Linked DNA regions of Homo sapiens: regions 1, 2, 3, 4, 6 and 7 are each linked to region 5. Evidence: promoter capture Hi-C in 16 types of primary human blood cells and fetal thymus (Javierre and others, 2016). All regions are on one chromosome and are shown on one strand. Each heading gives the region's core, a stretch centred on a gene start or on the middle of the fragment in contact. The rest is flanking DNA. Distances are from core to core; before and after follow the strand shown.

Region 1 (3,679 bases), core at 774-3,273, 840 kb before region 5:
TGCGCTCCAGCCTGGGTGACAAGACCAAAACTCTGTCTCAGAGAAAAAAAAAGAAAAAGAAAAATAAAAAAAGAAAGTAAAAGACAGGCCATAGGCCGGGAGAAAATATTCTCAATATGTATATCTAACAAAGTGCCTATATCCAGAATATATAAAGAGCTCTTACAACGGAAAATAAACCCAATTAAAAAATAAGCAAAAAATTTGAACAGACGTTTCACAAAAGAAGAGATACAAATAGTCAGAAAGCACATAGGAAAGTGCTCATCATCATTAGTCATCAAAGAAATGCAAATTAAAATGAGATAACTGGCCGGGCGTGGTGGCTCATGCCCGTAATCCCAGCACTTTGGGAGGCCGAGGTGGGTGGATCACCTGAGGTCAGAAGTTCAAGACCAGCCTGGCCAACATGGTGAAACCCCATCTCTACTAAAAATACAAAAATTAGCTGGGTGTGGTGGTGGGTGCCTGTGATCCCAGCTACTCGGGAGGCTGAGGCAGGAGAATCACTTGAACCCAGGAGGCAGAGGTTGCAGTGAGCCAAGATCACGCCACTGCACTCCAGCCTGGGCGACAGAGGGAGACTCTGTCTCAAAAAAAAAAAAAAAAAAAAAAAGCTAAAACCTGAAAACAACCCCAATGTACATCAGCAAGTGAGTGTAAAAAGGGTGAAGTGCTGATTCATGGGTGAACGCCACAGGTCGCACACTGAAAAAGGAGCCAGACGTAAAAGACTGCATGTTCTGTGGTTCCATTTATATGACATTTAAAAGAGGCCAAAATCGTGATGAAAATCATAGACTGCAGAGGAGCACGCAGAAACTCGGGGCGATGGAAATGCTCTACTGTTTGATTGCAGAGGCAGGTACAAGGTGAATATGTTTGGCCACGTTCCTCAAACTGCATACTTAAAATGGGTACGTTTTATTGCATGTAAATCATACTCAATACATTTGATTTAAAGTTAAAAAGAAAATGTTTGTGGTTTTATGAAGCTGATCTCCAGAGGCTAACACTTCTCTCTCTAATATGAATGCAATGGCCCAGCTCTCACCAATTTCCACAGTACAGAAGAAAACACCAGTGCAGAGTTCCGCACAGACACGGAGGGACTGGGAGGAAGAGGGAAGGGATACTGAGACCAAGTCCGGCCTCTGCTGAGTGGCCTGGGCCAAGTCATTTTATGTCTGACTTTCAGTCCATCTACAAAAGAAGAACAAACTAGGCCTTTCTGCTAACCAGAGCTACCGAGAGCACAAAAATGAGAAAACACAGCTAAGTGGTTGATAAAATAGTAAAGCACTTTCTTTAGAATCTGCCCCGGCCTTACTTATCTCTCTGTCTTCATCAGGCTCAAATATTTGTTACACAAATATGTGTTATTTTTATTATTACTCATGCTTTCTACCAAGAGCCAGTTATCAAGTCAAAAAAAAAAAAACTGTCTATTTGCAAATTGATTTTAAAATAACAATACCAATAGCTAACATGTTGTTAAAAGTGATGTTCTAAGGGCTTTGCACATATTACTTTGTTTAATCCTCACATGAACTGGGATGAAACTGGGAAAAGTAGCTACAGACTTGCACAAGTCTACATAGCTAGCAGTGTTTAGAGCTGGCCTCAGAACTCAGGCTGTTGTTGGAGAGCCCCCCTTCCTTGCCACTCTGCTCTGCTGGCCTCTACAGTATATGTTTAGGCAGAATTGGTAGGTTTCACTAGACAGTCAAATTTCTATTTCCTTTACTGCTGAGGGAAGTAGCTTCTTCGTGTCCAAATAACCAAGCTCTTGAGCACTAAATCAAGTGACATGACCTTCAATAAGAAGCGCAAGAATGTTTCAAGTTTATTTATTTATGCTACTGACACAAAGACCAGAAACTACCTACTTCTTTTCCAGCTTTACAGACACTATATAAGGCAAATAATTCACTGCAGTTCCCATCGCTGTAGTCAACAAAAATGTGGAAAGTTTCTGTTCCTGGTGTCAATATTTGCTCTCTGCATGTCCTGGGCTGCCTGGAACTTACACACAGTGGTACTACATTAAAACCTCCATCGTGAGACACATTTTCACGCGGTACCTCCAGGACTATGGTTTATTTGCTTATACAATTACTTCATTTGTGTTCAGTTAACTATATCTGACAGTATATCCAAATAAAAATATGTAATTAACGGTCACATTGATGAGAATGGAATGTTGATTTATATCCCAGGAGACCTGAATGAAAACTGAGCCCAAACTTAGCCTTTGAAGTAAAGTAACTTCCCTGCAGAGCCGGTCCTAGAGCACAGAGGCTATCAGCTCACCCTGTTCTCTTCCTTCCCGTCTCTAAGCCCTCTGTTGGCCCTTCCCAGGTAGACAGGAAATCCACGCACGTATACCAGTCCAATATTCCCAAACTGGGTTTCAAGTTCTTAGAAGACAGGGATCATATCTCATGTACCTTCTGTATTCCTCATAAGGCTCAAATATTTGTTGCATAGGTATTTGACTCTAGAATCCAAACGATAACTCACTTGACTCAACTGACTTAAGAGTTAAATCAATTCGTGGCTGGGCACAGTGGCTCACGCCTGTAATCCCAGCACTTTGGGAAGCCAAGCTGGGTGGATCACCTGAGGTCAGGAGACCAGCCTGGCCAACATGGCAAAACCCTGTCTCTACTAAATACAAAAAGTAGCTGGGTGTGGTGGCTGGCACCTATCATCCCAGCTACTTGAGAGGCTGAGGCAGAGACAATTGCTTGAACCCAGGAGGTGGAGGTTGCAGTGAGTCAAGATTGCCCCACTGCACTCCAGCCTGGCCAACAGTGAGACTCCGTCTCAAAAAAAAAAAAAAAAAAGAGTTAAGTTAACTCAAAGAAATTATTTCAGAAGAAAATGATAATAAATCTCACTATGATCAGTTTAAGAACCTGCTTGGGGCTTTACATGCAAAATATATCCAGGCTCAGCCAGGTGCAGTGGCTGATGCCTGTAATCCCAACACTTTAGGTGGCCAAGGCAGGATAATATTTTGAGACCAGGAGTTCAAGATCAGCTTGCGCAACATACCAAGAAGCCATCTGTACAAAAATTTAAAAATTAGCCAGGTATGGTAGTATACACCTGTAGTCCCAGCTACTCAGGAGGCTGAGGTGGGAGGATCTCTTAAGCCCAGGAGGCTGAGGCTGCAGTGAACTATGATCACACCACTGTACTCCAGCCCTCCAGCCTGGATGACAGAGTGAGATCTCATCTCAAAATTTAAAAATAAATAAATAAATAATTTAAAAAAGTAAATAGTTATCCAGGCTCTAACTTGTCAAGTCCCCTCTGCCCTACCTACACCCCACCCTGCCCCAATCACCATCAGCTCTCACCTGCGTTATTGCAACAGGCTCCAAACCAGTCTCCCTGCTTCTGCTCTCAGGCCCACACAATCCATTTTCAACCCCAAAGCCACGGTTATTCTATTAAAAGTTGGATCAGTGGCTTCCTATCTCGAGTCCTTCTGATGGCCCGTGACCAGGACTCCACTGATCTCCTCTTCTATCACAGTCCCCCTCGGCGACCCTCTCCAGCCTCAACAGTCTCCTTGCCGTTCATCCACCGCACCCAGCAGGCTCCTGCTGCTGGGCCTCTGCACCACCATCCCTCAGCTGGGGAATCCCAGGGCAGTCCCACGCTTCCT
Region 2 (3,550 bases), core at 622-3,121, 980 kb before region 5:
TTTAGTTTCAAAATATGGATTTTTCCAGTCTTTTTATTATTGATTTTTAATTTACTTTGTGGAGGTTAGAAAACATAACATATGTTTTGAATCTTTATAGCTGTTGAGACTTTTATTGAGACATAGGACCCAGGCGAGTTTTCTCAATGTTCTAGAGATTTCACTATATGATTTTGATGTTTTGGTATTTGAAGGTCTTCAACTGTGGCCTAGTTTGTAGTAGTCAGTTTTTCTTTTTCTTTTTTTTTTTTTTTGAGCCAGGGTTTTTGCGCGTCACCCAGGATGGAGTGCAATGGCGTGAACACGGCTCACTGCAGCCTTGACCTCCTGGGCAGTCCGCCTGCCTCATTCTCTTGAGTTCCTGGGATCAAGGTGTGTACCAGGCCCAGCTATTTTTTTTTTTCCCATAGAGATGAGGTCTCACCATCTTGTCCAGGCCAGCTTGGAACTCCTGGGCTCAAGCAGTCTTCCCGCCTGGGCTTCCCAAAGTGCTGGGATTACAGGAGCGAGCCACCATGCCTGGCCTGTATTTAAATTTTAAGAAGTATTTTTCAGTAGCTTTATTGAGATATAATTTGCATACCATGCCATTCTCCCATTTAAGGTGTACCAGATCCTTTTACAGTTTGTAAGCATGAGATATATATATATCTATATATAGATATATATATAGATATAGATTTTTTTTTTTTTGAGACCAAGTCTTGCTCTGTTGCCCAGGCTGGGGTGCAATGGCACAATCTTGGCTCACTGCAACCTCCGCCTCCTGGGTTTCAAACGATTCTCCTGCCTCAGCCTCCTGAGTACCTGCGATTAAAGGTGCATGCCACCATGCCCGGCCAATTTTTGTATTTTTAGTAGAGGTGGGATTTCATCATGTTGGCCAGGCTGGTCTCGAACTCCTGACCTCAGGTGATCCCTCCACCTTGGCCTCCCAAAGTGCTGGGGTTACAGTGGAGAGCCACTGCACCCAACCTAAGCATGATAATTGAGTGTTCAGGCGCATGTGTGAGATGTGGCACCATGGAACCCTGGTATGATGTCGGTACGTGACCCGTCTGACATGAGAAATGGACAAAATAAATAAATAAATGGTACCAATTCAACAGTTCTTAGTAAATTTACAGGGCTCTGAAATCATCAGCACAATCTAATTTTGTTCCCCCTAAAGAAACCGAGTCTGGGTTCACAGTGAGTCCCTGTTTCCTCCTCCCTCCCAGCCTCTGTCATTTCTCCTGCATTGTACTTGATGGAAAGAGTGTAGTTTCCACACTCGTTCATTAGTTCAGACCTGCTATGTTCTTGCTAATTTGTTTGCTTGTTTCTGAGAGGTGTGTAAAAAGCTTACACCAAGATCATGGATTCATGATTTTTCTTTGAGATGCATCCTTTTTTTTTTTTTCGCTTTACATATTATTTTTTTCTTTTTCTTTTCTTTCTTTTTTTTTTTTTGTTTTTTTTTTTTTGAGATGGAGTCTTGCTCTATTGCCCAGGCTGGAGTGCAGTGGCATGATCTCGGTTCACTGCAGCCTCGACTTCTTGGGCTCAGATGATTCTCTCACCTCAGCCTCCCTAATAGCTGGGACCACAGGAGCCCGCCACCACGCCCGGCTAAGTTTTTGTATTTTTTGTAGTGACGGGGTTTCACTATGTAGCCCAGGCTGGTCTCAAACTCCTGGGCTCAAGCAGTCTGCCCGCCTTGGCCTCTCAAATCGCTGCAATTACAGGTGTGAGGCACTGTGCCTGGCATTTTTTTTTTCTTTTTTTTTTGGAGACAGGGTCTCACTCTGTCACTCAGGCTAGAGTGCAGTGGTGTGATCACGGCTCACTGTAGCCTCAACTTCCTGGGCTCAAGTGATCCTCCCACCCCAGCCTCCTGGATGGCTGGGACTACAGGGACACACCACCACACCCAGCTAATTTTTTGTATTTTTTTGCGGAGACGGGGTTTCACCACGTTGCCCAGGCTGCTTTACACGTTTTGAAGTGAGGTTAGGTATACATAGATGTAGGAATGTTGTGTCTTTCTGGAATTTATCTCCGTGATCAGTTAACTTACTTCTGCATGAATACTGCTTTTTGCTTTACAGCCCATTTTGTTTGCTATTTCTGTTGCTACATCAGCTTCTTTAAAGTTAGAATTTGCCTACTGTGTCTTTTCTCTCCTGCTCCCAGCCTTTCCTGTCGTTGCATTTTATTGCTTTTAGAAACACCACATTGCTTGTTTTTAGTGTTTAATTTAATCTCAGCAACTCTTTCTTTTAACAGATAAGTTTGATCTCTTTAATTTGTTGAGGCGACTGTTAGATTTGAATTCTTTTGTATTTTTTAATTTCCTGTGCCTTACCTTTGTGCCTTTATCCTCCTTTTCTGCCCTCCATCAGATTGATAAAGCTTTTTTTTTTCTTTTAAATCTTTCCTCTTCTGGTTTTGAAGTTATACATTCTATTTATGTTCTTCTTTTTAGACAAGTTCTTGTGCTGTTGTCCAGGACAGTGGTGTAATCACGGCTCACTGCAGCCTTGACCTCCTGGGCTCAGGTGATCTTCCCATCTCAGCTTCCAGTGTAGCTGGGACTATAGATGCGCGCCACCATGCCCAGCGAATTTTTATAGAGAGGGGATCTTCCTGTGTTGCCCAAGCTGGTCTTAAAACTCCTGGGCTCAGGCAATCTGCCCACCTCGGCCTCTCAAGATGCTGGGACCACAGGCTTATTTGTGTTCTTCAGTGGCTACCCTTATATTTTTAACATGAGAACCGGATTTTTTAAAAAGTCTGAAGTTAATTAGACTTTCCATTCTCTATCCAGGCAACCGAAGGACCTCAGAGCACTTGAACTTCAGGCCATCACAACCTTCTATTATTGTCGTTAGTATTTTAATTCTGTTTTGTTTCAAAACCCTTCAACAATGATTTTTTAGATTTTGAACTCAGTGGCATTGTTTTTTGTTTGTTTGTTTGTTTGTTTTTGAGACAGAGTCTTGCCCTGTCACCAGGCTGGAGTGCAGTGGTGCGATCTCGGCTCACCGCAACCTCCACCTCCCGAGTTCAAGCAGTTCTCCTGCCTCAGCCTCCCAAATAGCTGGGACCACAGGCGCCCGCCACCATGCCTGGCTAATTTTTTATATTTTAGTAGAGACAGGGTTTCATTCACCATGTTTGCCAGGATGGTCTCAATCTCCTGACCTCGTGATCTGCCTGCCTTGGCCTTCAAAAGTGCTGGGATTACAGGCGTGAGCCACCACGCCCCGCCTTTTTTTTTTTTAGAGAGACAGGGTCTCCCTCTGTCGCCCAGGCTGGAGTACAGTGGTGCAGTGATAGCTTGCTGCAGCCTCGAACTCCTGGGCTCAAGCAATCCTCCCGTCTCAGCCTCCTGAGTAGCTGGGACTGCAGATGTGTGCCACCATGCCGGGCTAATTTTTTTTTATTTTTTGTAGAGACAGGGTCTTGCTATGTTGTTCTCCTGCCTTGGCCTCCCAAAGTGCTGGGACTACAGGTATGAGCACCTCACCCAGCCTGCAGTGCTGATTCAGGTGGACATAGTGCTTTT
Region 3 (3,726 bases), core at 653-3,152, 620 kb before region 5:
TTTCTGGTAGCCGAGGGTTCCCAGGAGCACATATTGTGATCACGTCTGTTCCATTCAACAAATATTTGTTGAGGGCTTATGACGTACCGTGGTGTATACTGGCTGGGAGATGCAGCAGAGAGCAGGACGCACGGTCCCTGTGCTGAAACTCAGCACAGCAATGTGGTGCTGGGTGCGGAGGCGGGGAAGGGCTTTGAGGACCAAGAGTTGGAGGGCCTTGCTGTTCTAGGACAAGGACCGTCCTCTGGGCGGGGACGCTTTCTCTCCAGGACGTGGTGGCTGTCGGAGCTGGGTGGCCCTTGTCTCACCCCGGTTGCTTGGGCAAGTGAGTATGCTGGGGCGTGGCTTGGGCCGATGGTTTGTGAGCCTGCACCTGTCAGCCTCAGTTTGGGCTCCCTGTGGGGCGTGTGAGTCCCTGTTCTGACTGAGGGTTGGGTTAGGGTTTCCAGCCTCCCTGCCCCTGGGAAGAGGCTCCACCCTCCTCCACGAGTGCTGAGCTCCGGGTCTATTTGTACTGTGAGGAGTTGCTTTTGTCTCCATCAAAAACATGAACCACTGTTTGGAGCACTTCCATTTACTGACAACCCTTGCCAAATTAATTTTATTTAATTATCTCCCAGGGCTAAGCTTGAATACATTTTGTGTTAAGTTCACAGTTTTTTCCTTTTCTAAACGAAATGGACTTAATATCCTTGTTAAAATCTGATTAAAACTAAAATTGAGTTTTTTGAAGTCTGATTATCCCATGAAATGGAATTTTAAACCTAATTACAGATGGATTTGCATATACTTTTCAGCACCATTGAAAAGAAACTTGGTATAAATTTATTAATGACATCCTTTTCTCTCGTTTCCTTGGGGCATGACGTTAGTTTAGGAGCATGAGGGAGGTGGGGAGAAACACCACCCTTCTCCCCGCCCTTCCTTAGAATTTTTTAAAAAACTTTACTCTGTGGAGAATCAGTTCCCTAGGAGCCTGGGGCATAGTCACACTTTCATTCTCATCTTTGCTGCTTTACCGGCTTAGGTGGCTGATAGTTTTCCTGAATTGTTTTTCAATACTCAGAGCTCTTGTCTTTCGGAAGATGGAAGAGGAGCATGCACGATCATAGCTGCTGGTGTGTCTTCCCTGTCAGCTTAAAACGCAGATTTGGCCGGGTGTGGTGGCTCACGCCTGTTATCCCAGCAGTTTGGGAGGCCGAGGTGGGTGGATCACCTGAGGTCAGAAGTTCGAGACCAGCCTGGCAAACATGGTGAAACCCTGTCTCTACTAAAAATAACAAAAATTAGCTGGGCGTGGTGGCATGTGCCTGTAATCCCAATGACTTGGGAGGCTGAGGCAGGAGAATCGCTTGAACCCAGGAGGTAGAGATTGCAGTGAGCCGAGATCATGCCATTACACTCCAGCCTGGGCAATCAGGACAAAACTCCATCTCAAAAAAAAACAAAAAAAACAAAAAACCCCATGGATTTATATTTAACGTGCTACCTCCACCCTGATTTAATTTTAGTTTTTAATTTTAAGTTTTATTTTATGTATTTTTTTTTTTATCGAGACAGAGGCTCGCTCTGTCACCCAGGCTGGAGTGCAGTGACGCGATCTCAGCTCACTGCAACCTCTGCCAGCCGGGTTCAAGCAATTCTTCCGCCTCAGCCTCCCGAGTAGCTGAGATTACAGGTGCCTGCCACTGCGCCCGGCTAGTTTTTGTATTTTTAGTAGAGACGAAGTTTCACCATGTTGGCCAGGCTGATCTCGAACTCCTGACCTCATGATCCGCCTGTCTTGGTCTCCCAAAGTGCTGGGATTACAGGCGTGAGACACCGCACCCGGCTTAATTTTTTTTAATTTTTTTGAGACAGAGTCTTGCTTTGTGGCCCAGGCTGGAGTGTAGTGGCACAATCATGGCTTACTGCAGTCTCTGCCTCCTGGGCTCAAGCCATTCTCCCACCTGAGCCTCTGGAGCAGGTGGGACTACAGACACTTGCCACCACGCCCAGCTAATTTTTGTATTTTTAGTAGAGACGGGGTTTCACCATGTTGGCCAGACTGGTCTCGAACTCCTGAGCTCAAGTGATCCGCCTGCCTCAGCCTCCCAAAATGGTGGGATTACAGGTGTTAGCCTCCACCCTAGTTTTAGATACATTTGTATTATTAAAAAAGTAAAAACAAACTCTAAATGACCATTAGGTGAAATAAACAAGAAATTTCCAAAGGGCCATGTTCCTGTTCTTTGAGAAATCCCACTTTTCCAGGAGGGCTGTTTGCTATTGTGTCTGGACTCATGCTGCCTGTTGCGACTTCCTAGTGGCAGGTGGAGGTAACAGGCTCCCAGCGTACTTGCCCTCAGTCTGGCTGTCACCGTGGTTTTGTTTCGTCTGGAATTATGTGGGAATGGAATCATACGTCATGCAGTCATTTGTGTCTGGTGATTTCACTGGCAGAATGTTTTCTGAAAAGCATTCATTCACATTTGTTGCTTGTATCGGTTGTCCTTGTTATATCGAACGGATATACCATAATTTTTAATCCGGTTTTTTGCTCTTGCAGATAAAGATTCTGTGAACATTTGTATTGAAGTCTCTTTATGTATGTTTTCCTGTCTCTTGGGATAATACCTAGGAGTGGGGCCTCTGGGTGATATGGTATGTTTTAATTTTAGAAAAAGCTGATGAGCCAAAGTGGCTGCCTAATTCTGTCCCCTGGCCACCCGTGTGTGAGAATTCCGCTGGCCCCACATCCCGAGCTCTTTCATTGAATTCCGCTGGCCCCGCATCCCGAATGCATTCATTGGCCACCTTCACTTTAGCCATCCTGGTGGGTGTGTGCGGTATTTCCTTGTGGCCTTCATTCCTGTTGCCCTGGTGACTAATGATGTTGAACATCTACTCATGTACTTAACTTGACGGCCATATATCTTCTTTTGTGAAGTGTCTTTTCAAAGTCTTTTCCCCATTTTTTAATTGGACTGTCATCTTCTGAGTTGGCAGAGTACTATATATATTCATGACAGAGTCTTTTGTCAGATGTATGGTGAATATTTTCTCCCGGTACGTGGCTTCCTTTTCATTTTCTTAGTGTCTTTTGAAGGGTAAAAACTTTTAATTTTGCTAAGTCTGATTTATCAATTCATTTTCTTTATGGTTTGTGTTTTTTGTATCTGCCTAACCCAAGCTTTTAGAAACTTTCTAGCTTTAACTTTACTGTTAATTTTGAGTTAATTTTTGTGTGTAGTGTGGTCACAGTTGAGGGTCGCTTTCCTGCCCCACAATACGTATGTCTGTTTCCCATTTGAATTTCCTTGGCACCTCTGATGAAAGCCTGTCAGCCATACATTCATGGGCCTTTGCTCGAGGTCTTCTTTCATTGAATCATGTGTCTGTCCTTTCTCCAGTATGGTAAGGTCGTAATTACTGTCACTTCCTAATACTCTTTGAAAGAACATAGTAAGCCCTCCAGCTTTTTCTTTGTAAGAATTGTCTTGGCTATTTTAGTTTTTTTATTTTCAGATAAATTTTAGATTTAGCTTTCAGTTTGTTTTCTTTCCCCCCATTTACTTTTTATTTCGTTTATTTTTTCTTGCCTTAGTGCACTCACTGGGACCTCCAGTGCAGTTTTACCTGGGCATGGTGAGAATGGCTGTCCTGGCCTTGTCAGCCTTAGAGGGAAAGCGTTTAGATTTTCCTGAAGCATGAGGTTAGTTTTAGGGTCTTGCGAGATACTGTTCA
Region 4 (3,415 bases), core at 752-3,251, 800 kb before region 5:
ATCTCATTAAACAAAATTACCCGCGTTTGGTTTCACAGGCTCTATTGGCATGGACTAGTTCAAGTATCAGTGCCTCCATCAATGTTTTTACAAGTCACTAAATACTGAAAGTCCTTGACAAACTTAACCAGCAGTTTTGGAATACGAGTTGTGGGTAACGCGGCAGCTGGACTCAACCACTGACCCCAAAACAGATCTTAATGTCTGCGGTTATGGAACTCTGTTCAGACTTCAAAGGAAACGACTCCTCTCTGCAGACATTCTCACTCCTTTTCAGGGGTCCCTGGGCCCAGGGTAAGACCCCCCACCTCCCCGCAACCATGAGCAGGGGCTGCTCCTGCACTCGGCGCCACCTCTTCTACAACCCAGAATCCTCCTCCTCCTGCCACTAACACCAGCCAAGGCTTCTGTTCAACACAGAGGCTTGGTGCCCCTTCCCTGAGGTCCCAGGACAGCACCAGAGTCAGCAGCTAGCCAGCACTCCCTGCTTCTATCCACAGTCAAAACTATGCCCCACAGGCCTGCACCTTATGGCTCCACCAGGACACAGAGGTGACGACGTAGCGCCCAGTAGGATCCCATTCGACGTCGGAAGCCATGTAGTGCTCTGCGATGTTCATGACCGTGCAGTCCGAAGTGTCCACAAACGCTAAGGCACCGTTCATACTGCAAAGACAGACAGGACCGTCAGGCTTCATGGAGACGCATACCTCCTGGCATCCCACTCCTGAGAGGTGCTGCGGCATGGGGTCCCCAGGGAGCCAGCCTCGGCGTTAACATGGAAACAAGCACAGCAACAGCCTCTGGTGGCCGCTGTGAGACTTACCAAATCACAGATGCAGAGTGTGCAGTGAGTATTACATATGACTGCCATCATATTATTTTTACTGGAAATGTTATCTGAGGCTAAGTAAGCCTCCAAAAATACAGTAGCAAGTGTGGACAATGAAGCAAGGGAGAGCAGCAACAAAAGGGTATTCTTTTAACTCAGAGCAGAAAGCTGGAAGCTTCTCCATGATTTCGACACACTGCTGGAACACAGCTGAGACCGACACCGTGACACCAACCACAAAGGTAAGGCAGCCTCACAGCTGTGTAACGAATACCCTTCCCACTAGAAGACAAGGGACTGACCCCCGGGGGGAGGTTACTGGATGGCTGGAAGGCACTTGTTTAACCACAGAGAACCACAACCCGCAGACAGGTCTGCCTGGTCACTTCACGAAAGCATCTGGGAGCGCTTATTTCACTCTGTGCGGGCTTGGCCTGAGTCCTGGAGTACCGTGGGTCTGCAGAGGTTCAATGAAGTCCTATCCACTGACACTGGGGCAACCCTTTCAGCGCACAATACTCTCTCTACCAAGAAGCCGGGTGCAGGCGCCTGAGGGGTCTCTGCCACAGCAGAGCGCTACTCACAGGGCGGACAGGCTCAGAGCGCAGACACCTACCTCCTCAGGCCCGCCAACACCACGAACTGTCCTTGGGGGCTCCAGAAGATGGTGTTCGCCTGCTGCTTGTCGAACATCTCTGAAAGGAAAGAGCGCGCCTGTCACGAGCTGCGAGGGCTTCCACAGTGCCGGGGCAGCCAAGGCTGGAGGACTTGGCCGTGCTCATGCTGCCCATGAGGGCAGAGCTGGTAATGCTGGACCACCTCGGAAAACAATTTTACAAAGTCCATCGCCAAGTACCCCCTAAGTCATGATCCATACTTTAAATGGGAAAAAAAAGAAGATGCGACAGGGGTATTTCAAAACAATACTATCTTATTTCCTGAGGTAACTGGACAAAGAATTCCCTTTACAGCAAATGTTCACTGCTGCAGGGACCCCAACAGAGAGATGTCAGAGACGTGTGACCCCAAAAGACCAAAGCCACTCTCCTAGCGACAAGGCGTCTTTGGATAAGCTGTATGCTTGTTGAAACTGACTACAGTCATCATCTTTGCAGGTACTAACTCTTACTTCCGGAATGGATCTCGGGCAGAGCCGCTGGAACAGTGAGAAGTGAAGGCCAGCTGGGGCTGGCTCAAGTCCCCCTCAGAGCATATGCTCCCTGCATCTCAAACAGAGCTGACAACCTGTGGCCTCTCTCCCCTCAGCCTGTGGTACATCCAAAAAAGAGGCATGGGGCAGGCTGACGTGGGGAGGAGGGGAGGAGATGTGGGAGGGCAGTGCACCCTGGCAGGGGCAGGGGTCTCAGACTTGCACAAGCGAAAACCCCAACAGCCACGGGCATGGGATGGAGCCCATGCGGTGGCCCCAGCGTCCATGCCAAACCTCAGGAGAGGCGTGTCACGCAGCATGTTTGGAAGGTACAAGGTGCCTCTGCTTGCCTATGTTTTATGACCTAGAAGACTTACACAAGTCTCTGGACAGTCTGCAATTGCCCATATGTTTCTATCAACCAGAATTAATGAAACAGCCAATCTTGTAATCCACTGCCAACTGAGGGCACCACGCACCCTGCCAAGCTCTAGCAAAGTGAAAACTAAACTCCTCACAGAATCATGCTGCGAAAGGTGCGGCCAGGAGATTCCAACCCCTTCCTGGTACAGAGCCAAACCCATGGCTCTGCAGGAGGGCAGCTGGCAGCCAGAGTCCTGTGTGAGGAACACAGCCCATCGCCACCTCCTGGCTACCACACACACACACCCCACGCCTATGAAGCAACAAGCAATGGCTCATTCAATCCCCGCGGGCACCGGGCTCTGTGCTGAGCAGAGACCCCAGGATGAAGTGAGGAGCTGAGGGCACAGGCAGCAGGTGCCGTGAGACAGGCGAGGGCCCACGCACCACTGTGAGGAGCGAGCCCCAGGTGGGTGCAGTGTGGCACCCCTGGAACCGGGTGCACGGGGGCAGAGTACAGCTGTGTGCAACAGCTCTGCGCACCCTGGTCAAAGGCACCTGACCCAGACTGGGGACTGGCAGGAGTATGTCCACAGGAAGTGACCCCAAGCCCAGGGACAGCAGCTACAGCCAGAAGAGAAAAAGCTTCACTTGAGATGATGGCAGAGAATGGAAGCCTTGGAAATACTCGCTTAAACGTGAGGGCTCAACGGGGCTCAGAGAGACACCCTGCAAGGAGGCGGCACCTCCAGGCCATCGCTCACTTCCATCAGCCGAGGCCACACCCCATTCATAGGCGAGTCCCGGCCTGCCCAGCAGTGGTCCTAGGCCAGTCAAATGCTCACTGTTGGGCAGCGACTGGGTCATCATCTGTGCTGACCTACTCAGAAGAGGAAAGGGACCAGGTTACTTACTGATGAGTTCAATCTTCCCGTTGTTTTTGACGTGGTAGAAAGACACAGATATCCGCGGAGCCTCTCCGTGCAGCACAGCAAACTTACTTCCATTTGGTTCCCAGGCAAAGGCTATGATGGTTTCTAAAATGCACAAAACAGACCCCTCCCTTTTTG
Region 5 (3,626 bases), core at 814-3,313:
CATAGCAATGCCAGGACGTTACCCTAAAGGGTTTAAAAAGGTAAGGCACGAATAATCCACCCCTTGTTTAGCATATCATCAAGAAATAACCACAAAAATGGGCAACCAGCAGCCCATGCTGCTCTGCCTATGGAGTAGCCATTCTTTATTCTGTTACTGGTGGAGGGTGTCCAGGTTCTTGGCATCTTGAACAAAGAATTGGACAAAATGCACAAAGCCACCGGGCGCGGTGGCTCACACCTATAATCCCAGCACTTTGGGAGGCCGAGGCGGGCAGATCACCTGAGGTCAGGAGTTCAAGACCAGCCTGGCCAACATGGCGAAACCTCGTCTCTACTAAAAACACAAAAGTTAGCCGGGCATGGTGACGCACGTCTGTAATCTCAGCTACTCAGGAGGCTGAGGCAGGAGAATTGCTTGAACCCGGGAGGCAGAGGTTGCAGTGAGGATCACGCCACTGCACTCCAGCATGGACAACAGAGACTCTGTCTCAAAAAAAAAAAAATGCACAAAGCAAAAAAAGAATGAAGCAACAAAAGCAGAAATTTTTTGAAAATGAAAGTACATTCCATGGTGTGGGGGCGGCCAAAGCATAGAGGCTCAGGGCCCCATTACAGAACTTGTGAGGTTTAAATACCCTCTAGGGGTTTCTACTGGTTACTTGGTGTACGCCCTATGTAAATAAAGAGGATGAAATAAAGTTACAAAATCATTTACTCAGTGTACACCCTATGGAGAGGGTATTTCCTGTCATAGCTGAAGTGTTCCCTGCCTCCAGACCCTGTTTTCCTGCCTCAATTCCTTTACTTTTCTAATAAACTTGCTTTCACTTTGTGGACTCGCCCTCAATTCTCTCTTGGGGTCTGGATCGGGACCCCTTTCTGGTAATATAGACAGAAAATACGGCCTTGACATGGTTGTCAGGAAACGACAGTAAGGCCTCCGAGGGTGGGGTTCTGAAGGGATGTTAAACGCCCCACCCCGAGGAAGGCTCTGGAGGCTCCAATCACTTTCAGCCTCTGCTACCAAGATGTCCGACCCTACCAATAAAACTTCCAGCAGCGGGGCGCGGTGGCTCACGCCTGTAATCCCAGCACTTTGGGAGGCCGAGGAAGGCAGATCACCTGAGGTCAGGAGTTCAAGACCAGCCTGACCGACATGGTGAAACCCCATCTCTACTAAAAATTTAAAAAGTTAGCCGGGCCTGGTGGCGCACGCCTGTAATCCCAGCTACACAGGAGGCTGAGGCAGGAGAATTGCTTGAACCAGGGAGGCGGAGGCTGCAGTGAGCCGAGATCGCGCCACTGCACTCCAGCCTGGGTGACACAGCAAGACTCCGTCTCAAACAAAACAAAACAAAAAACCTTCCAGCTTGGAGAAACTGAGAGTGAGCAGTAGGGAGTGAGGGGGTCCCTGGGAGGAACCAGAACTCATCCCGCTTCAGGGTGGGGCTGGCCCCCTTCTTGGCCTTGGCCGGGGCTTCGTGTCACGGAGCGCCCGAGGGACGGTCGGAGCCCACCCCAGCCCGCCCGCCGCCTGAGCCTGGCCGAGCTCTCTGCACCTGCACACGTCTGTAAAACGCGGATGAAACGCTTCTACGGAACCGGGTGGCTGAGATGAAGTGAGTTATGGGTATAAAGCGCTTAGAGCGATGCCTGGCGGACACTCGGTGCCAAATAAGCGTTCGCTGTGGCGACGATGACGCCTCCAGCCCAAAGCCCGTGGTCGAGCAGGGCCGGGCTCCCAGCGCTAGGGGGTTCCTAGGCGCGGCGCTTCGGGGGTCCTGGACACAGACACGGGGGACAGAGCTCCTACCAGCGACGATCCCGAGGGTCTGCAGCAGAGGGGCTGAGGCCCGGGACGGGGGTGGTCGCAGCGCCCTTTCCTGAAAAAACGGGGTTCGGCTCTAAGGCGCCCCCAAGCCCTGCCGGCAGCGCGGAACCCGAGCCGCTCAGAAGCCCGGGAGCCCCAAGTCTCCGGGACCAGAAGCGCCGCGGCCCTGACTTCCGGAAGGTGGACGGAACCCGCGGACGGGGCGGGCCCGCGTGGCGCACGCAGAGCCACTTCCGGGCGCGGCGCCGGCTTGGTGAGCGCGGGTACCCGCGGGCTTCCCCGGGCGGCTGCGTCCCCAGTAGCCCGGCCGGCCTCGGCACCGCGTGTCGTGGGGGTCCCGGGCCGCGGCTGCAGGGCCGGGGCGGCGGCGAGGCCGAGGGGCGGGAAGCCACTGCCCGGCCTGGCAGTGTGAACGTGCAAGTCGATCCCCTAACCCAGAAAGCCCCAGGCGCGGTCTCTATGGGCGGCCCCGCTCCTGCTTCTGTTTTATTTTTTTACGGACAGGGTCTCGCTCTACCGCCCGGGTTGTAATGCAATGGTGTGATCACGGCTCACCGCAGCCTCGACCTCCCGGGCTGAAGCGATCTTCCCGCCTCAGCCTCCTGAGTAACTGGGACCACAGGCGCGCCCTGCTGGTTTTTTTTTTTTTTTTTTTTGGTAGAGATGGGGGTCTCGCTATGTTGGCCAGGCTGGTCTCGAATTCCTGGCCTCAACGATCGTCCTGTCTCGGCCTCCCAAAGTGCCGGGATGACAGGCATGAGCCACCGCGCCTGGCCCCTTCTTTTGAATGGGCCTCCTTGCGTTTCCGTTTCAATGCCCCGTGCTACTTTTTTGGGAGCCCCAAGGCTGTACTGTTTGATTGACTCCTTTTTTTCCCCTTTCTTTTTAACCTAAATTAAAGCTGCCACTGCAGAGCCCCGCCATGGAAGACACGCCGTTGGTGATATCGAAGCAGAAGACGGAGGTGGTGTGCGGGGTCCCCACCCAGGTGGTGTGTACGGCCTTCAGCAGTCACATCCTGGTGGTGGTGACCCAGTTTGGGAAGATGGGCACCCTGGTCTCCCTGGAGCCCAGCAGCGTGGCCAGTGACGTCAGCAAGCCTGTGCTCACCACAAAAGTCCTTCTGGGGCAGGATGAGGTAAAGTGGATTGGCCGGGAACTGTGGCTCACGCCTGTAACCCTAGCACTTTCAGAGGCCTAGGCGGGCAGATCGCTTGAGGCCAGGAGTTTGAAACCAGCCTGGGCAACACAACAACACACACACAAGTCACTACAAAAAAACAAGTGCCTACACAAAATATATATATAGAGAGAGGCTGGGTGCAGTGGCTCACACCTGTAATCCCAGCACTTTGGGAGGCTGAGGCGGGCAGATCACTTAAGGTCAGAAGTTCCAGACCAGCCTGGCCAACATGGGGAAACCCCATTTCTACGAAAAATATAAAAATTAGCTGGGTGTGGTGGCACATGCCTGTAATCTCAGCTACTCAGGAGGCTGAGGCAGAAGAATCGCTTGAACCCGAGAGGCGGAGGTTGCAGTGAGCTAAGATCGTGCCACAGCACTCCAGCCTGGGTAACAGATAGAGACTTGGTCTTAAAAAAAAAAGGAAAAGAAAAGGAAACAAAAAATTAGCTGGGCCTAGTGGTGTGTGCCTGTGCTCCCAGCTACTTGGGAGGCTGAGGTGGGAGGATGGCTTGAGCCCTGGAGGTTGAGGCTGCAGTGAGCCATGATTGTGCCACTGCGCTCCAGCCTGGGTGAGAGAGCAAGACTCTGTCTTTAATAATAATAATAA
Region 6 (3,473 bases), core at 62-2,561, 750 kb before region 5:
CTACGCAGCAGGCTGAGGAAGGAGGATCTCTTGTACCCAGGAGACGGAGGCTGCAGTGAGCCATGATCCTACCACTGCACTCCGGCCTGGGTGTGATAGCAAGACCCTGTCTCAAAAAATTAAAAAAAGGAAGAGTGTTGAGAAGAAATTGGTAGCTTTATAACACAGGGCAAATGCCCACAAGGGTTGTGAGAATGGTGTCTTGCAGCCTAGGCTAGGATCTCAGCTCTGGGATCTTAGGGTGTTGAACTTTTCTGGTCTTGGTTGCCTGCAAAGTACTGATCATACCACTTCCTAAATTTTTTTTATTCTTAGTTTATTTTTATTTTTATTTTTTTGAAAAATAGGTCAGTCACAGTGGCTCACTCTTGTAATCCTAGCACTTTAGGAGGCTGAGGTGGGCAGATTGCCTGAGCTCAGGAGTTCGAGACCACCCTGGGCAACATGGTGAAACCCTGTCTCTACTAAAATACAAAAAATTAGCCAGGCGTGGTGGCGCATGCCTGTAATCCCAGCTACTTGGGAGGCTGAGGCAGGAGAATTGTTTGAACCTGGGAGGTGGAGGTTGTAGTGAGCCAAGATCACACCACTGCACTCTAGCCTGGACGACACAGTGAAACTCTGTCTCAAAAAAAAAAAAAAAGAAAGAAAGAAAATAGAGATGGGGTGTCACTACGTTGCCCAGGCTGGTTTTGAATTCCTGGGCTCAAGTAACCCTCCTGCCTTGGCCTCTCAAAGTGCTATGATTACAGACGTGAGCCACTGCCCCCGGCCAGGATGAGATACATTCTTTTTTTATAAATTCTTTTTTTTTTGAGATGGAGTCTTGCCCTTGCCACCCCAGGCTGGAGTACAGTGGCGTGATCTCAGCTCACTGCAACCTCTGCCTCCCAGGTTCAAGCGATTATCCTGCCTCAGCCTCCCAAGTAGCTGGGACTAGAAGCATGCACCACCATGCCCAGCTTATTTTTGTATTTTTAGTAGAGACGGGGTTTTACCATGTTGGCTAGGCTGGTCTCGAACTCTTGATCTCAGGTGATCCACCTGAGGTTGCAGTGAGCCGAGATGGTGCCACTGCACTCAAGCCTGGGCAACAGAGCAAGAGTCGGTCTCAAAACAAAAACAAAAAACCAAGAAGACTCAGTTCCTAGTACGCATTCAATACGTGTTAGCGTGGTTAGTGTTTGGTGCTGTCCTGGCTTCTGGCGTGCCAGGCACGTGGTAGTACTGCACTTCTGGTCCTTCTGAGGTTGAGCGAGACCACATCACTGGTCCTGGCCAATGCGTTGTGAACAGCAATGAGTCTTACTTCTGGGCCATATCATTTAGCGGCTCCTGCAGCATCCTCCAGATCCTTTCTCTCTGTTAACATGGCAGAAATGCAGGATGGTGGCCGCTCTGTGATCCTGGGTCTCTGCATGCCGGTGACAGACATGAACCCCTTTGTGACTTTAAGCCTCTGGGATTTGAGATTGTTACTGCAGCATGATATAGCCTATCCTAAACAACTCATTAGCCATTATTAGTATTTCTAAGATACGCTAAACAATGCATTACCCATTATTAGTTTTTTTGTTTGTTTGGTTGTTTTTTTTTTTTTTTTTTTTGAGACAGACTCTCACTCTGTCGCCCTGGCTGGAGGGCAGTGGCACAATCTCAGCTCACTGCAACCTCCACCCCCAAAGTTCAAGCGATTTTCATGCCTCAGCTTCCCGAGCAGATGGGATTACAGGCACCTGCCATCATGTCCAGCTAATTTTTGTATTTTTAGTAGGAATGGGGTTTCACCGTATTGGCCGGGCTGGTCTAGAACTCCTGACCTCAGATGATCCACTGGCCTTGGCCTCCCAAAGTGCTGGGATTACAGGTGTAAGCCACCATGCCTGGCCCACACCATTTATTTATTTATTTATTTATTTAGAGACAGAGTCTTGTTCTGTTGCCCAGGCTGGAGTGCAGCAGCAAGATCTCGGCTTACTGCAACCTCTGCCTCCCAGGTTCAAGTAATTCTCTTGCTTCAGCTTCCCGAGTAGCTGGGATAACAGGTGCCCACCACCACGCCCGGATTTTTTTTTTATTTTTAGTAGAGACAGGGTTTCACCATGTTGCCCAGGCTGGTCTTGAACTCCTGGCCACAGGTGATCCACATACTTCAGCCTCCCAAAGTGCTGGGATTACAGGCGTGACCCATAGCACCTGGCCTACAGCATTTATTTTATTTTATTCTATTTTATTTTACTTTTGAGATGGAGTCTCAATCTGTCACCCAGGCTGGAGTGCAGTGGCGCGATTATGGCTCACTGCAACATCCACCTCCTGGGTTCAAGCGATTCTCCTGCCTCAGCCTCCCGAGTAGCTGGGATTACAGGCGTGCGCCACCACACCAAGTTAATTTTGTATTTTTAGTAGAGATGGGGTTTCATCATGTTAGCCAGGCTGATCTCGAACCCCTGACCTCAGGTGATCCACCCGCCTTGGCCTCCCAAAGTGCTGGGATTACAGGTGTGAGCCACGGCGCCCAGCCAGCATTTATTTTTAAGTGATGGGGTCTTGCTCTGTGGCCCAGGCTGGAATACGGTGGCACAATCATAGCTCACTGTAGCTTCCACCTCCTGGACTGAAGCACTTCTCCTGCCTTGGCCTCCCAAAGCACTGCAATTATAGGCGTGAGCCACCACACCAGCATTTTAGTAACTGTTTCTGAAAGGTCCTTAGCAGGTCCTTTCTGCACGTCCTCCTGTGTAGTTAAATTCTGACTCCGATGCTCTGCATGCTAAGTTCTGTCCATTTGCCCAGCTAGTTCCCATTTTCCTAAATGAAAAGCACTACATGTGAATCAAAAAAACAGATTAACCATCGTGATATAACTGGGTTCTTGCTACTAAGCAAAATGTTTTAGAATTGAGAAATTCGAGGCCGGGCGCAGTGGCTCACGCCTATAATCCCAGCACTTTGGGAGGCTTAGGCGGCAGATCACCTGAGGCCAGGAGTTCGAGACCAGTTTGGCCAATATGGTGAAAGCTTGTCTCTACTAAAAATACGAAAATTAGCTGGACATGGTGGCGGGCGCCTGTAATCCCAGCTACTCGGGAGGCTGAGGCAGGAGAATTGATTGAACCTGGGAGGCAGAGGTTGCAGTGAGCCGAGATCCGAGATCGCAACATTGCACTCCAGCCTGGGTGACAAGCGTGAGACTCTGTCTCAAAAAAAAAAAAAAAAAAAAGGCCGGGCGCGGTGGCTCACAGCTGTAATCCCAGCACTTTGGGAGGCCGAGGAGGGCGGATCACAAGGTAAGGAGATCGAGACCACAGTGAAACCTTGTCTCTGCTAAAAACACAAAAAATTAGCCAGGCGTAGTGGCGGGCGCCTGTTATTCCAGCTACTTGGGAGGCTGAGGCAGGAGAATGGCATGAACCTGGGAGGAGGAGCTTGCAGTGAGCTGAGATCACGCCACTGCACTCCAGCCTGGGTGA
Region 7 (3,695 bases), core at 723-3,222, 670 kb before region 5:
GGAACAACAGTCCCCGTGCCTGATTGGCACCAAAATAACCACGCAGTTTATCCTGTGGTCCTCAGGTCAGGCCTTTGGATTAACAGGAACTTCTTTCAGTCTAGTGGGACCTGGCCTCTCTGTAGCAGGCTTCCAGATTCCCAGGAAATGTGTGGCTGTAGACACAGGTCCACCCAGCCAGGCCCGGCTAGTCCTCCCTCCTGTGATAGGAGTTTATACCCCACCCACTCTGCTCCTGCTGTGGCTACTGTGGGACCTGGCACCCAGGGGGGCCACTGGAAGTCACAAGGGTCCTTCCTGCTCCCATAGGTGTGCAGGTCCAGGTCCAGAGGACTCTGAGGGCGATGCCTCCGCCAGGTCCCTGCTGAAAAAAGGACCCTGGAGAAATGCTGGAGGGCCAGGACCAACTTTCCTTTATTTATTTTGAGACAAGATCCTGCTCTGTTGCCCAGGCTGGAGGAGAGTGGCGTGATCGCGGTTCACTGTAACCTCCGCCTCCCTGGCTGAAGCCATCCTCCTGCCTCAGCATCCCACATAGCTGGGACCACAGGCATGAGCCGCCACACCCAGCTAATTTCTGTATTTTTAGTAGAGATGGGGTTTTGTCACGTTGCCCAGGCTGGTCACGAACTCCTGAGCTCAAGCGATCCACCCACCTCAGCCTCCCAAAGTGCTGAGATTACAGGCGTGAGCCACTGCGCCCAGCCAGGACCAACTTTTCTGGGGTCCACACCTGGACAAGACACAGGGTTCAGGACCAGTGATCCTTCTTGGAAGTTGTGGTGTCTGAGAAAAGGGACCAGATGATAAGGAAGGGGGCAGGGAAGTGCTGGGTAGAGGAGGGCGTGGTCTCTGGCCAGGGCTCCACACCCAGGCCTGTGCCCAGGGACCTGGGTGAGGACAGGCATTTCTGTTTTTTTGCCCAAATGTTGCATTTCCCGAGCCCGCCACGTCCCCGTCCTGTGCCTATAAAAAAACCCCAGTGGTTTTTTATAGTGGGCAGAGACACAAGCCGCTGGACGTCAAGAGGACGTGGAAAGCACACCAACAGGCACCAGCAGGCCATCAACTGATGGAACCATGAGTTTGGCAGGGGCGGTCAGAGGAGAGCCCAGGCTGCTCAGCAGCCCGACTCCAGGGGAAAATCACCTTCCCACTCCAACTGCCTTCTGGCTCCCCCATCTGCTGAGGGCTAATTCCACTCATAAAACCTTGCACTCACTCTCCAAGCCGCCGTGTGATCTGATTGCTCCAGTACATCAAGGCAAGAAACCTAGGGATACAGAAAGCCCTCTGTCCTTGCGATAAGGCAGGGAGTCTAACAGCTGACTAACACAAGCCACCTACAAGGCTAAACTGAAAGAGCACCCTCTAACACATGCCTGCTGGGGCTTCAGGAGCTGCAAACATTCACCCCTAGACACTGCCGTGGGGTGGGAGCCCCTCAGCCTGCCTGTCTGTATGTTCCCCTAGAGGCTTGAGAAGCGGGGCACTGAAGAAGTGAGCCACATCCTCATCGCACGCCCTTCGAGGAGGACAAGGGAACCTTTCCCATTTCACTGAGACTGGGTCCTGGTGGCGGAGGCAGGTCAGACAGGGTAAATGGGTTTGTGGCTTAGTTTCACACCAGGCCCGTGTACTTTGTCCCGACACTGATCTGTTTCTGCCAGAAGCCACGGTTTCCAAAGTAAATTTTTGTGATTTACTCCTGGTCTCCCCCAAGCCTCCGCCCCGCTCTCCTTGTCTCTCTCCCAAACCCCCGGCCCCGCTCTCCTCGTCTCCCTCGAGCCCCCGACCCTGCTCTTCTGGTCTCCTTCGAGCTCCCGGCCCCGCTCTCCCCCAAGCCCATGGCTCAGCTCCCCTAGTCTCCTGCCGCCCGCTGGCCCGGCTCCCCTCCCTGGTCACCACGACTCCTGGAATCCCCGCGCGCGCTTTTCGTACCTGCACCGCCGCTTCCGGGGGCGTGGCCTCTGACCGGAAGTGAGGCCAGGCACTTCCGGCGGCGCGCTGCAGGCGCGGGGAACACCAATGGCGGGGTGAGCTGGGCGCTGCTGCTGCGCGTGCAGACAGCGGGAGTGGTTGGGGGTCCGCCCGGTCGCCTTCCTCGGTCCTGGCCTCGGGGCTGGGTGCCGAGCGCTGGGCACCGTCCCCGCACTCAGCGAGCGCGACAGGGGCGAGGCCAGGATTCCGGGTCGCAGTTCCCCGGGAGGAGGGCGCCCTCAGGTCTCCAGGGGCAGGGCCGGCGGGGCCGTGGGGAGGCCGGGGCCGGCGGCGGAGTCCAGGTGGGGGGCGCAGCGCCGGGGCCCAGATCCAAGGCGCCGGGGGCGAGCCCGGGGCGGGATTTCGCTTCTGGGCCGGGTAGCTCCATTGCCCGCGCTTCCTGGGCTGTCGAGTGGGCCCTGGCCCCCGGGACCGGCTTGTGCCATTTTCCCGGGAGACCCCTTAAGCGAGGGGAAGACAGCGACTCACGGTCAGCAGTCAGTGCCTCCTGGCTTGTCAGCACGCTTTGGTGTTGCAGAAGCTAGAAGCTTTGGCCTTGGAGCCATGAGGGTGGTAACTTTTATTTATTTATTTAAATCAGAAAGATGGACATAGAGACCGGGCTTGGTGGCCCACACCTGTCATCCCAGCACTTTGGAAGTCTGAGGCAGGAGGATCGTTTGAGCCTAGGAGTTCGAGACCAGCCTAGGCAATGTAGTGAGATGCCATCTCTAAAAAAGGTTTTTAAGAATTAAAAAAAAAAAAAAAATTAGCCCAGGCATGGTGGTGCACACCTGTAGTCCCAGCTACTCAGGAGGCTGAGGTGGGAGGTTCACTTGAGACCCAGAGGTTATGGCAGCAATCAGCTGTGATTGTGCCACTGCAACTCCAGCCTGGATGATAGCAAAACAAAAATGGCCGGGTGAGGTGGTTCACGCCTGTAATCCCAGCACTTTGGGAGGCCAAGGTGGGCTGATCGCCAGAGGTCAGGAGTTCGAGACCAGCTCGGCCAACATGGTGAAATCCCATCTCTACTGAAAATAGAAAAATTAGCCGGAAGTGGTGGCACACACCTGTAGTCTCAGCTACTCAGGAGGCTGAGGTGGGAGGTTCACTTGAGCCCCAGAGGCTGTGGCTGCAGTCAGCTGTGATCATGCCACTGCACTCCAGCCTGGGTAATAGTAAAACCCTGTCTCTAAAAAAACAAAAAGAAGAAAGAAATGCCTGGGTGCAGTGGCTTACACCTGTAATCCCAGCACTTTGGGAGGCCAAGGCGGGCAGATCAGCGGAGGTCAGGAGTTTGAGACCAGCCTGGCCAACATGGTGGAACCCATCTATACTGAAAATACAAACATTAGCCGGACATGGTAGCAGGTGTGCCTGTAATCCCAGCTACTTGGGAGGCTGGGGCAGGAGAATTGCTTGAACCCGGGAGTCGGAGGCTGCAGTGAGCTGTCACTGCACTCCAGCCTGGGCGCCAGAGTGAGACTCCGTCTTAAAAAAAGAAAAAGAGGACATAGAACTTCCTTGGTGAGGTTGTTGTCAGAGTTAAACAAGGGGAGGTGTGTATAGCTTCCACCTGCTTAGCTATTGTGGGCTGTGAATAAATTGTTACATTTATTGTAACAATTGTCTAGAGAATCTTGGAAATTGTCCTTCAACGATTGACACAGGTTTAGTTCAATTTTATTTAAGACATGTAGGTGAGAGGATTG

What was found. Contacts are between HindIII fragments. The CHiCAGO score rates a contact against its expected background, and 5 or more counts as called.
Region 1: a contact is called between a fragment that was not itself captured here and the fragment with the promoter of PSMG3 in region 5, in 1 of 17 cell types (non-activated CD4 T cells). The highest score is 5.4, in non-activated CD4 T cells.
Region 2: a fragment that was not itself captured here is called in contact with the fragment with the promoter of PSMG3 in region 5 in 1 of 17 cell types (total CD8 T cells); the score reaches 5.0 in total CD8 T cells.
Region 3: a contact is called between a fragment that was not itself captured here and the fragment with the promoter of PSMG3 in region 5, in 8 of 17 cell types (M1 macrophages, M0 macrophages, M2 macrophages and 5 more). The highest score is 12.1, in M1 macrophages.
Region 4: a contact is called between a fragment that was not itself captured here and the fragment with the promoter of PSMG3 in region 5, in 1 of 17 cell types (naive CD4 T cells). The highest score is 6.8, in naive CD4 T cells.
Region 6: a fragment that was not itself captured here is called in contact with the fragment with the promoter of PSMG3 in region 5 in 1 of 17 cell types (total CD8 T cells); the score reaches 5.0 in total CD8 T cells.
Region 7: the fragment with the promoter of NUDT1 here is called in contact with the fragment with the promoter of PSMG3 in region 5 in 5 of 17 cell types (fetal thymus, M1 macrophages, M0 macrophages and 2 more); the score reaches 8.9 in fetal thymus.

Annotation. Positions count from the first base shown.
Region 1 is chr7:2,410,661-2,414,339 of GRCh38, reverse strand. The region is part of intron 1 of CHST12 (carbohydrate sulfotransferase 12); the gene reads right to left. Among named protein-coding and RNA genes, the nearest start is that of CHST12, 8.9 kb to the right of the region's middle. The HindIII fragment of the contact is 9,344 bases long and covers 1-3,679 here.
Region 2 is chr7:2,548,384-2,551,933 of GRCh38, reverse strand. All of the region lies in intron 2 of BRAT1 (BRCA1 associated ATM activator 1), which reads left to right. It also overlaps the pseudogene LOC124901849. Among named protein-coding and RNA genes, the nearest start is that of BRAT1, 5.4 kb to the left of the region's middle. The HindIII fragment of the contact is 1,051 bases long and covers 1,346-2,396 here.
Region 3 is chr7:2,189,858-2,193,583 of GRCh38, reverse strand. All of the region lies in intron 10 of MAD1L1 (mitotic arrest deficient 1 like 1), which reads left to right. Among named protein-coding and RNA genes, the nearest start is that of MAD1L1, 41 kb to the left of the region's middle. The HindIII fragment of the contact is 2,545 bases long and covers 630-3,174 here.
Region 4 is chr7:2,372,640-2,376,054 of GRCh38, reverse strand. EIF3B (eukaryotic translation initiation factor 3 subunit B) reads right to left here. Exons shown (of 19, transcript NM_001037283.2): 12 at 3,260-3,382; 13 at 1,449-1,527; 14 at 528-666. Among named protein-coding and RNA genes, the nearest start is that of EIF3B, 20 kb to the right of the region's middle. The HindIII fragment of the contact is 1,983 bases long and covers 1,010-2,992 here.
Region 5 is chr7:1,568,469-1,572,094 of GRCh38, reverse strand. PSMG3 (proteasome assembly chaperone 3) reads left to right here and starts at 2,063. Exons shown (of 2, transcript NM_032302.4): 1 at 2,063-2,971. The coding sequence starts at 2,756. PSMG3-AS1 (PSMG3 antisense RNA 1) reads right to left here and starts at 2,022. Exons shown (of 5, transcript NR_027329.1): 1 at 1,816-2,022. RefSeq lists enhancers at 1,012-1,061, 1,072-1,141, 1,765-2,333 and silencers at 1,442-1,521, 1,962-2,391. The HindIII fragment of the contact is 7,479 bases long and covers 1-3,626 here.
Region 6 is chr7:2,321,464-2,324,936 of GRCh38, reverse strand. It overlaps a transcript of SNX8 not described here. Among named protein-coding and RNA genes, the nearest start is that of SNX8, 8.8 kb to the right of the region's middle. The HindIII fragment of the contact is 3,424 bases long and covers 1-3,023 here.
Region 7 is chr7:2,240,503-2,244,197 of GRCh38, reverse strand. It overlaps NUDT1 (nudix hydrolase 1), which reads right to left and starts at 1,972. Exons shown (of 4, transcript NM_002452.4): 1 at 1,942-1,972. It overlaps MRM2 (mitochondrial rRNA methyltransferase 2), which reads left to right and starts at 1,993. Exons shown (of 3, transcript NM_013393.3): 1 at 1,993-2,036. The coding sequence starts at 2,029. RefSeq lists a silencer at 2,067-2,286 and an enhancer at 2,609-3,460. The HindIII fragment of the contact is 10,591 bases long and covers 1-2,530 here.